Regions from separate parts of the Homo sapiens genome. Here region 1 is linked to region 2. The links are contacts of gene promoters, found by promoter capture Hi-C in blood cells and fetal thymus (Javierre and others, 2016). All regions are on one chromosome and are shown on one strand. Each heading gives the region's core, a stretch centred on a gene start or on the middle of the fragment in contact. The rest is flanking DNA. Distances are from core to core; before and after follow the strand shown.

Evidence for each region. The method cuts DNA at HindIII sites, captures the fragments that hold promoters and counts their contacts. A CHiCAGO score of 5 or more calls a contact.
Region 1: a fragment that was not itself captured here is called in contact with the fragment with the promoter of ATP1A1-AS1 in region 2 in 8 of 17 cell types (total B cells, fetal thymus, naive B cells and 5 more); the score reaches 10.2 in total B cells.

The regions. Positions count from the first base shown.
Region 1 is chr1:117,053,407-117,056,106 of GRCh38, reverse strand. All of the region lies in intron 1 of CD101-AS1 (CD101 antisense RNA 1), which reads left to right. Among named protein-coding and RNA genes, the nearest start is that of CD101-AS1, 4.7 kb to the left of the region's middle. The HindIII fragment of the contact is 6,290 bases long and covers 1-2,700 here.
Region 2 is chr1:116,417,350-116,420,049 of GRCh38, reverse strand. It overlaps ATP1A1-AS1 (ATP1A1 antisense RNA 1), which reads left to right and starts at 1,428. Exons shown (of 3, transcript NR_027646.1): 1 at 1,428-1,591. RefSeq lists a silencer at 1,220-1,349 and an enhancer at 1,309-1,603. The HindIII fragment of the contact is 1,476 bases long and covers 823-2,298 here.

The DNA of each region.
Region 1 (2,700 bases), core at 163-2,662, 640 kb before region 2:
ATTTTGACCTGGCTCAAAGTCACAAAGCTGACAGCAGCCAATCAGGGACTAAAGGCCATTTTTCAGAACTTTCAATCCAGTTCTTGCCACTATAGTATTTTTTCTTCTTCTTCTTCTTCTTTTTTTTTTTGAGACGGAGTCTCGCTCTGTCGCCCAGGCTGGAGTGCAGTGGCGTGATCTCGGCTCACTGCAACCTCCACTTCCCAGGTTTAAGCAATTCTCCTGCCTCAGCCTCCCAAGTAGCTGGGATTACAGGCACCCACCACCACGCCCAGCAATTTTGTGTATTTTTAGTAGAGATGGGGTTTCGCCATGTTGGCCAGGCTGGTCTCGAACTCCTGAGACCTCAGGTGATCCACCTGCCTCGGCCTCCCAAAGTGCTGGGATTACAGGCCTGAGCCACTGCGCCCAGCCTATAGTATTTTTATAAAGCATAAATTATTCAGCAATGCATTCAGATATTTAACCCACACATCGGTAAGTGTTTAGGTATTTGCTGTGGTGTAGAGACATGGCTCAACAAATCCAAGACAAAAACCAAAAACCCAAGTCCTGCCATTTTATAAATGACCACTAGGTAGCAGCCTAGTAACATAAAAACCAAACTGAGGCCCACCCTCCTCTGTTTCATTCTTTTTGTTTGAAGATATATAATGGTAATTCAATTTCATTTCATTTCATTTTGTGCCTTTCAAACATATGACTGTTTTCAACTTGTCCTTTGACATAGGCTCGATCAGGATGATACTATAGTGAGAACAAATGTGGTTATAATTTGTAAAGCCAAGAGACTTTACAAATTATTTTGTTATACCAATATTTTTTCAGTACTAGATTCCAAATTTCACTGTTCTTAAAATATTATTCCAAAAGTGGTTCAATGCAGGCTCTTTATCTTCTTCTTTTTTTTTTTTTTTTTTTTTGGTAAATGTACAGGTATTTTTTTCAGTTGGAGTCTTGTCTGTTACCCAGGCTGGAGTGGAGTGCAATGGTAGGATCTTGGCTCACTGCAACCTCCGCCTCCTGGGTTCAAGTGATTCTCCTGCCTCAGCCTCCTGAGTAGCTGGGATTATAGGCTTGTGCCACCACGCTCAGCTAATTTTTGTATTTTTAGTAGAGATGGGGTTTCACCATGTTGTCCAGGCTGGTCTTGAACTCCTGAACTCAGGTGATCCACTCGCCTCGACCCCCCAAAGTGCTGGGATTACAGGCTTGAGCCATCGCGCCCGGCCACAATTCTTTTTTTTTTTTTTTTGAGACAGAGTCTCACTCTGTTGCCAGGCTGGAGTACAGTGGCATGATCTTGGCTCACTGTAACCTCTGCCTCCTGGGTTCAAGTGACTCTCCTGCCTCAGCCTCCCGAGTAGCTGGGATTACAGGTGCCCGCCACCACGCCTGGCCAATTTTTGTATTTTTAGTAGAGATGGGGTTTCACCCTGTTGGCCAGGCTGGTCTCGAACTCCTGAACTCAGGTGATCCACCCGCCTCGGCCTCCCAAAGTGCTGGGATTACAGGCATGAGCCATCACACCTGGCCCACAATTCATTGTTTAAGTAAATTTATAAAGTTGTGCCATCACCACCAGAATCCAGTTTTAAAACATTTCTATCACTCAAAAACTTTCCTCAAAGCTGTGTGCAGTCAATCCCAACTGCCACCCCCAGCTAGTCCCAAGGCAACCTCTGATATGCTTTCTGTCTTTATAAGTTTGCCTTTTCTGGACATTTCATATAATGGAGTCATGTAATATGTAGTCTCTTGCCTCTGTCTTCTTTCACTTACATAATGCTTGTGAGGTTTACCCATGTTGCACATGTATCAGTATTTCACTCCTTTTTATTGCTGAGTAATATTCCATTGTGTTCATTCACCAGTTGGTGGACATTTGGATCATTTTCCCTTTGGAATTATTAGGAATAATATTGCTATGAACATTAATGTTAAAGTCTGTTTTATTGTTTTTGTTTTTGTTTTTTTGTTTTTTGTTGTTGTTGTTTTTGAGATGGAGTCTTGCTCTGTCACCCAAGCTGGAGTGCAGTGGCATGATCTTGGCTCACTGCAACCTCCAGCTCCCAGGTTCAAGCAATTCTCCTGCCTCAGCCTCCCGAGTAGCTGGGATTATAGGCTCGAGCCACCACGTAAGCTAATTTTTATATTTTTAGTAGGGACAGGGTTTCACCATGTTGGCCAAGCTGGTCTCAAACTCCTGACCTCAGGTAATCTATCTGCCTCAGCCTCCCTAAGTACTGGGATTACAGGCATGAGCCACCGCACCCGGCCTAACGTTAAAGTCTTTATATGAACATTTGTTCTCATTTCTCTTGGGCAGATAAACCTGTGAGTGGAATTGCTAGTTCATATGGTTAGTTTGTTTAACTTTTTAAGAAATTGCCAAACCACTTTCCAAAGTGGCTATACCATTTTATATTTCCACCAGCAACGTATGAGGGTTCCCAGTTCTTCATGTCCTCAACAATGCTTGTTATTGCGTGCCTTTTTTAGTAGGTATGAAGTGGTATCTGACTTTTGTTTGAATTTTGATTTTTCTATTGATGTGGCACTCTTTTTCGTGTGCTTTTTAGCCATCATCTTCCTCTTTTTAAATGGTCTTGAAAGTCTTTTTCCTTTAACGTTTGTATGGAACTTAAACCTAAGTTAAAATGACATTAATTGTTATTAATACAAAGACATAAAAAGACA
Region 2 (2,700 bases), core at 179-2,678:
CACAAGGTCAGAGATCCAGACCATCCTGGCTAACACGGTGAAACCCCGTCTCTACTAAAAACACAAAAATTAGCCGGGCGTGGTGGCGGGCGCCTGTAGTCCCAGCTACTCAGGAGGCTGAGGCAGGAGAATGGCGTGAACCTGGGAGGCGGAGCTTGCAGTGAACGGAGATCGCGCCACTGCACTCCAGCCTGGGCGACAGAGCGAGATACCGTCTCACAAAAAAAAAAAAAAAAAAAAAAAAAGTGCACTTTAGATGTTTTCCTGGTGGGGGGGGGGGGGAGTGGGATATAAGTAGCAGTGTTCCAAGTACCAAAACCTCCCTGAGTCATCTGTGAAAAGCCATTTGGCAATAATACTGAAAGCTTTTAAATGCTCACATTCTGACTTAGCAGTTTCACTCCTGTGAATATAACCTAAGGAAACTGATCTCAATACTGAAAGGACTTTATACACAAGAATGGGCTGGGCAGCAAAGTGCTGTAATCCCAGCACTTTGGGAGGCCGAGGCCGGGTCGAGGGAGAAGCACCTGAGGTCAGAAGTTCGAGACCAGCCTGGCCAACATGATGAAACCCCGTCTCTACTGAAAGTACAAAAATTAGGTGGGCGTGGTGGCAGATGCCCGTAATCTCAGCTACTCAGGAGGCTGAGGCAGGAGAATCTCTTGAACCTGGAAGGCGAAGGTTGCAGTGAGCTGAGATCGCGCCACTGCACTCCAGCCTGGGCGACAAGAGCGAGACATCGTCTCAAAAAACAAACAAACAAACAAACAAACAACCAAACAAAACAAAAAAGAATGAATAATTTATAATCGTGAAGCTTTGGAAGCCACTTGAATGTTGAACATTTGCGAGATGCTCAGAGAAGTGACAGCGTATCAACCCAATTTTTTAAAGTCCTGCCATTAAAAATTATAGGTAGGAAGCGTCAGTACTAACACGGTGAAAATGTTCATGTTACAAAGTGGAAAACAACCCTGGATTCAGTTTAGTATGTGCGTTTTACCACAGCTATGTAGAAACAAATCCATACACATGGAAATCGAATGAAGTGAAACGCATGCAAATGGTAATGATGCTGTGCTTGGAGGCAGAATTGGAAGCAGTGTTAAAGTTATTTATCATCATTCGTGTTTTTAAAATGCCGTGTGATGGCCGCAATACTTCTGTAACGAATGATGTTTAAGCACGGAGCCCTTCACTGGCCGACGCGCGGGTGGGAGATAGGAGCCGCGCCCAAGCTCAGGTGGCGGCTGCGGGCAGGGCCGCCTGGGGCCGCAGCCGGGCGCGCTCCCGGCGGGGACCCTCTGCTCTCCTTGCAGACGGAGGCCGCGCCGGGTTTGGAGGCATCCCACAGCCTCAGGCCGAGGACCCGCCGCGAAGCGCCGCCTCCGCGGGTTGACCCTCTGCAGCCGCCGTAGCGCAGAGACGAATCCGCGCTCCCCCAGGCTGTCGCGCGAGCTCCCCGGAAGCTCCCACCTGAGCGGCGCATCCTCAGGGCCTGGGCCTGGCCTCCTTGCCTGTGAGATGGCACTGTGACGGTGCCCACCTCGTGGGGTGTGTGAGGGCCGAGTGAAATCGTGCATTTGCGGTAAGAAAGTGCTTATCACGGTGCCCAGTCCTAATATGGGCTGCCAGCCTAAGTACAGAGTCCCAATCCCAGCCCAAAGGCCAGTTTCCAGGTGAACCCTTGTCGGGGAGACCACCAGACGGAACAGTCCCAGTCTACACTCCTGCACCGAGCAGGGGACAGTGTGGACCGCAGAGAGGTCCGAAGTCCCTTTAGAATAAGGATGGTGCTTCAGGGTTGTTAAAAGGATTAAATGAGATGATATCTAAAGGGATTAGCACAGTGGCTGGTGCTAAAATAAATCATTTTCTCTACTGCCACTGCTCTTACAACCAGACGCCTGGAACAGCCTGCTGGTTCGTCTCCTCATTTGTAAGCTGGAGTTAGTAGGTGTGTTGTGAAGGTTGAGAGAATATGCATAGGCAGAACCTGGCGTTTAATATTTGGGAAGTGGCAGCAATTCTTTCTTCATTAATCTACAAGCTGCACTGTGGTAGGCACATACCCTTAGCACCGATTCTTATAAGTGCAGGTAAGAGAGAGAGAAGATATATTGTGTAAGTCGAAGGAGCCAGCCGTGTCCAGGCCACCGCAAAACCTCGACAGTACTGTACCAGGGCCCTCTTCAGTGAATGAATCTCCTCTTTGGCCTGTTTGCTGTCTGTTTGCATTTGCTGCACCCATCAGTTCCCAAACCTGGTCTCTAAAGTCAGGAGCTCAAGGAAGCTTGTCCCAATCCTAGAAAACAAGTACAGCACACACCAACAGCAGCATCCCTAAAAGCCAGCCCTACTGGCAATGCGGGCCCTGCAACCCGTAGGTAAGTGGGACACTCTAAGCTTCTTGGAAACAGCTAACTCAGGGCCTGATTAGCTTACTCCCGCCTCCTGTCTTCAGGAAATCAGACTGTGTAAAATAAGAGAGAAAAGAAAATTGACATAAGTCTATTCCACTGTCTAATGAAATGTGTTTCACTTGTGTTTAAAGTGAATTGTGGGCTGGCGTGGTGGCTCATTTGCCTATAATCCCAACACTTTAGGAGGCCAAGGCAGGCAGATGGCTTGAGCTCAGAAGTTTGAAATCAGCCTGGCAACATGCAAAAACCCCATCTCTACAAAAAATATAAAAAT